2 separate regions of the Homo sapiens genome follow, and region 1 is linked to region 2. The links are contacts of gene promoters, found by promoter capture Hi-C in human tissues and cell types (Jung and others, 2019). All regions are on one chromosome and are shown on one strand. Each heading gives the region's core, a stretch centred on a gene start or on the middle of the fragment in contact. The rest is flanking DNA. Distances are from core to core; before and after follow the strand shown.

Region 1 (3,024 bases), core at 294-2,793, 37 kb after region 2:
AGAAAAATATATTTGACTATCACAACCTTTTCATCGAGGCCCACAGATTAATACATCTAATTTAAACAACTCTAAAATCTCTTGGATAGAGATCATTCATCCTCTTAAATAAAACCTCCAATTTCCTGTAATTCTCAGCATCTCTAGATGTCACAAAAATGTAAAATTAAACTTAAAAAGTATTATTAGCACTATATAGCTGTGTCAGTGTGCTTATATTACTTTCAGCATCATAAGTCTTTCTGTCATCAGCTAAATTATCTTTTTTTTTCTATTCTTTTAACAGAACTTCCCATTAAAATCTTACTCATGTTACTATTCACCATATATAGTATTTCGTCACTGAAGACTTTATTCAGGTAATCAAAAAAATGTTTAAAATTATACTTACTCTTGTGAAATGTTTACACCTAAGTGGTCAAATAAGCTCTTTAAATTTTATTTTTAAGTTATAACAGTAATATGACAACATTACAAAAAAAATTGGTAAATAGAGGGAGAAATCACTCAATCCCATCACTCAGTCGAGACAACATAGTTTGTGTCTTTAGTTTGGGGGAGTATTTGAGGAGGACTACTTAAATTAAAATCCTATATGAAAACTCAAAAACTGAATGTAAAATATGCTTTATGAATAAAACTATTAAATACAGATAGATATGGAAAAAACTAAAAGATACTATGTACAAATTTTTTTTGTTCGTTTTTTTGAGACGGAGTTTTGCTCTTGTTGCCCAGGCTGGAGGGCAATGGCGTGATCTCGGCTCACCACACCCTCCGCCTACCGGGTTCAAGCTATTCTCCTGCCTCAGCCTCCCAAGTTACTGGGATTACAGGCATGCGCCACCATGCCCAGCTAATTTTTTTTTTTTTGGAGACGGAGTTTCACTCTTGTCGCCCAGGCTGGAGTGCAGTGGCGCGATCTCCACTCACTGCAACTTCCGCCTCCTGGGTTCAAGCGATTCTCCAGCCTCAGCCTCCTGAGTAGCTGAGATTATAGGTATGCATCACTACCACACCTGGCTAATTTTTTATATTTTTAGTAGAGGTGGGGTTTCACCATGTTGGCCAGGCTGCTCTCGAGCTCCTGACGTCAGGTGATCCACTTACCTTGGCCTCCCATAGTGCTGGAAGTACAGGCGTGAGCTGCTGTGCCCGGCTAATTTTGTATTTTTATTAGAGATGGGGTTTCTCTGTGTTGGTCAGGCTGGTCTTGAACTCCCAACCTCAGGTGATCCACCCACCTCGGCCTCCCAAAGTGCTGGGATTACAGGCGTTGAGCCACCGCACCCAACTATGTACAAATTTTACTACAGAATTATAGATGGAAACTTTTTCTCTTCTAAACTGTATGTAATGTTAACTATAATTTTTTTTTTTTTTTTTTGAGACGGAGTTTCACCCTTGTTGCCCAGGCTGGAGTGCAATGGCACGATCTCAGCTAACTGAAACCTCCGCCTCCCAGGTTCAAGCGATTCTCCTGCCTCAGCCTCCCTAGCAGCTAGGATTACAAGCATGCGCCACCACACCCAGCTGATTTTGTATTTTTAGTAGAGATGGGTTTCTCCATGTTGGTCAGGCTGGTCTCAAACTCCTGACCTCAGGTGATCCACCGTCCTTGGCCTCCCAAAGTGCTGGCATTACAGGTGTGAGCCACCATGCCCGGCCAACTGTAATTTTTTAAAGCTTGCTTATGGTTCATAACTGTGTCCATAAAAACTTATATAATTAACTATGTTAAAATGCAGTTATAGCCATGTGACCCAGCAATTCCACCCCTATACCCAAAAGAATGGAAACAGGGACTCAACAGATACTTGTACATCAGTATTCATTGTAGCATTATTCATACTAGCTAAAAGATGGAAACAACCCAATGTCCATCAACAAATACATGATAAAGTGTGATATATACATATAGTGGATTATTCAGCCAAAGAAAAGAATGAAGTTCCAATACATGCTACATGAATGAATCTTGAAAACATGCTAAGTGAAAGAAACGAGAGAATAGAACAAATATCATATCGTTCCACTGATAGGAAATTCTAGAATAAACAAACATAGAGACAGAAAGTAGATTAGAGGTTGAGGGAACAGGGGGATGGGAAGTTATTGTTAATGGTTCCAGAGTTTCTGTTTGGGGTCACGAAAATATTTTGAAGGTGGATAGTGGCGATGGGCGCATATTATTGATCTACTTAATACCATCAAACTGTATACTTAAAAATGGTTAAACAAATAGCAAATTTCATGTTATATATATTTTACCAAAATAAAAAATATTTTAAAAATCTGGTGAAACCTTGTCTCTATAGAAAATACAAAAATTAGCTGGGCATGGTGGCAGGCGCCTGTAATCCCAGCTACTTGGGAGGCTGAGGCAAGAGAATCGCTTGAACCCAGGAGGTGGAGGTTGCAGTAAGCTGAGATTGCACCACTGCACTCCAGTCTGGGTGACAGAGCAACGCTCCATCTCAAAAAGAAAATTTTTTTTAAATCTTCAATTCTATATTGTTTCTCATGTTCTTATTCCAATGTCACAGCACCCAACCCCTTTACCTCTTTCAAATGCAGAACTAATTCTCTCTGAGCAGCTTGAGCTAAATAACAGCATAGGTCAATGGTGGAGTAAATTTAGATTGTTGAGATAATATAACGTATATAATTATCATTTTTTTCTAAATGTGAAACTTATTTTTTATTTTTATTTATTTTTTGAGACAGAGTCTCACTCTGTCGCCCAGGCTAGAGTGCAGTGGTGCCATATCGACTCACTGCAACCCAGTTAAAGCAGTTCTCCTGCCTCAGCCTCCCAAGTAGCTGGAATTACAGGCCTGTGCCACCCTGGTCGGCTAATTTTTGTATTTTTAGTAGAGATGGGGTTTCTCCATGTTGGCCAGGTTAGTCTAGAACTCCTGACCTCAGGTGATCCACCTGCCTTGGCCTCCCAAAGTGCTGGGATTACAGGCATGAGCCTCTGCACTTGGCCCTAAATGTGAAATTTAATATACTCTTGACTCT
Region 2 (2,778 bases), core at 27-2,526:
CTGAAGCTGTGGGAGGGCATAAACTCATATTAGGGAGGTGACACTGTCACCTACTTGCTGTGCATCTTTCAGCAAGATAATTAACTGATCTGACACATTATTGAGCATTTATTCTGTCCTGGAATCATATCAAGCAATTTACATGCATTCTCATTTAATCCTCACAACCAGTTTATGAGGCTGAAACTTTTTTTTTTTTAGACCAAAAGCATCTTGGATAAACAGGCCTGAGGCTTGCCCAGGCTGAAGTGCAATGGCGCGATCTCAGCTCACTGCAACCTCCGCCTCCCACGTTCACGCGATTCTCTAGCTTCAGCCTCCCGAGTAGGTGGAATTACAAGCGCCCGCCACCATGCACGGCTAATTTTTTTTTAATTTTTAGTAGAGACAGGGTTTCACCATATTGGCCAGGCTGATCTCAAACTCCTGAACTCAGGTGATTCGCCCACCTCGGCCTCCCAGTGTTGGGATTACAGGCGTGAGCCACCGCGTCCGGCCAGAAACCATTTTTATCTCCTATTTTCAAAAATAAATAAATAAATAAAAATTTTAAAAAAAGAAACTGAGGTTTAGAGTTTAGTTTGTCCAAGATCATACAGTAAAATAATGAGACAAGCCTAATTAAATTGCATGTGCCTCAGTCATTACGCAATCTGCGAGTTTGTTGGGCCTACTGAATCAGAATCCGAATTATTTTAACATGAACCGTAGGCTATTTGTACACTAAGCGTTAGGACTAGCCTCTACCCTGCTTCCAGAATGGGTTCCGCTCAAGCAGGAGGTGAGCCAAGAGCCTCGCTCAGAGTTCTAAAAACACAATGTTTCTCACCTCTGTATCTTTGCACATGCCATTCTCTAGCTGGATTTAATACTCCGGTGCAAGCGTCCAGGTTGGGAGCCCCCGCAGTTCTCTGAGGTACTTTTATCTACTGTAACTCTAGGGCAACAATCCTGGCTTCTCCACTAGTGCGTGAACGTCTCTAGCGTTAAGTTTTTTTCTCACCTAAGTATCCCCAATACTACACAGTGATGACCCAGCGCAAACGACCACTCTTTCAACGCAAGCATGAACTAGCTGATAAAACTTAAAAGTGGCTACAAACGCCTGCGCAGGAGCCCTTCCGGCCCGGGGTGAGACGCGGGTCTAAAGAAAAGGTGGGCGGGAGGTTTAAATAGCTGACTGCAGTCCCCGGACTGGCTGCGCCGCTCGCCGCATGCGCGCAGCTAGCGGGCACGGCTTCAGAGGGCTTTCTCCGCATGCGCGGGATCCCGGATGTGGATCAAGTTGGTGGGAAGCGTGCGGTGCCGCAGCAATGGCGGCGCTCACAATTGCCACGGGTACTGGCAATTGGTTTTCGGCTTTGGCGCTCGGGGTGACTCTTCTCAAATGCCTTCTCATCCCCACATAGTAAGGGACTCGCACGGCCAGGGGCTGGGCGGGGAGGCCCCGCGGTCGGTCAGGGCGGGAGAGAAAGGTGTGGATATCCCTGGGTATGAAGAGAAAACTTTAGGTCGTGTTTGTCGCTATCCTGCCTTTGCTAAGCTTTCTGTTTCGCCAGTTGTTACTTGACTTAGCCCCAGCTGGCTAGGTTCAGACCTGGCGCTGTCTGATTTGGAACAAATCACTTTAACGTTTCTGAACCTCAGGGTCCTCATCCTTAATAGGCAGTTAAGAACCTCTGCCTCCAACAGCCATTCAGCCAGTATTATCAGATGCCTGAGGTGCCAGGTACCGTTCTAACTCCCGGGAGATGCGGTGGTGAGCAAGACATTGCTGGTCCTTGCCCTCGAAGTTGGTGGGTGGAGCTAGACAAACAGGAACTTTTCAGATTGTGATAAAGGAAATAGAGGGTTACTAAGTGGCTGTGCGCTATTCCTTTAGAAGGTGATGTTTGAGTTGAAATTCAAAAAATGAAAAAGAATAAGTGATGTGGAAAGCAGTTCAGGCATAGGAAAGAGTAAGTTCAAAGGCCCTGTGGCAGGAAAGAAGTCAGAGCATTCTAGGAACAGAAAGTGCCCCTTGTGGCTGCAGAGCATTGAGGGAGAGGAGTGGCACAGCATGGGGTGCACTGGGGACAGATAACACAGGGTTTCGAAGACCACAGTTAGACTGCTGTGTAAAAAATGGATGTAGGGCCAAGACTGAAAGCGTGGAAACCAAGAAGCAACCATGAAATGGTGGTGTGTATACAGTAGGTACTCAGTATTTATTAATATTGGCTTCCGCCTTCCCTTCATCCTTCCTCTTTTTTCTTTTTCTCCCTCATCCCTTTTCTCCTTTCCCTCCCACTTCCTAGTTTAGGGTTTGTTTTATTGGTATCCTTTGATTCAGGCTCTTGGTGATCTCTTGTTGAATATGGGAGAGTCATATGTATAGAATGTAAGTCCATACTGATGCGTATATGTAATCATGTAAGTGGAATGTATATGTAGATTCAGTAAAATGATTAACTGTAGGTCTGTGCATAAGATTATTTCTTGCTTTAGTTGCCTCAGGCTAGAAATGTATCCTCAGAGTTGTTTTTTTTGTTTGTTATTTTTTTTTTTTTTGAGACAGTCTCGTCCCACTCTGTCACCCAGGCTGGAGTACAGTGGCACGATCTCAGCTTACTGCAACCTCTGCCTCCCGGGTTCAAACGATTCTCCTGCCTCAGCCTCCGGAGTAGCTGGGATTACAGGCTTGCACCACCGCGCCAGGCTAATTTTTGTATTTTTAGTAGAGATGGGGTTTCACCATGATGGCGGAGGGCTGATCTCAAATCTCCTGACCTCAAGTGA

The links. The method cuts DNA at HindIII sites, captures the fragments that hold promoters and counts their contacts. A contact is called where the count stands out against the background at its distance.
Region 1: a fragment that was not itself captured here is called in contact with the fragment with the promoter of ALG8 in region 2 in 3 of the 25 tissues and cell types used here (liver, neural progenitor cells and thymus).

What each region holds. Positions count from the first base shown.
Region 1 is chr11:78,101,315-78,104,338 of GRCh38, reverse strand. ALG8 (ALG8 alpha-1,3-glucosyltransferase) reads left to right here. Exons shown (of 13, transcript NM_024079.5): 12 at 287-359. Among named protein-coding and RNA genes, the nearest start is that of NDUFC2-KCTD14, 23 kb to the right of the region's middle. The HindIII fragment of the contact is 6,932 bases long and covers 1-3,024 here.
Region 2 is chr11:78,138,124-78,140,901 of GRCh38, reverse strand. ALG8 (ALG8 alpha-1,3-glucosyltransferase) reads left to right here and starts at 1,276. Exons shown (of 13, transcript NM_024079.5): 1 at 1,276-1,408. The coding sequence starts at 1,314. KCTD21-AS1 (KCTD21 antisense RNA 1) reads right to left here and starts at 1,109. Exons shown (of 3, transcript NR_102281.1): 1 at 830-1,109. RefSeq lists enhancers at 1-543, 704-813, 1,424-1,503, 1,584-1,693. The HindIII fragment of the contact is 8,215 bases long and covers 1-2,778 here.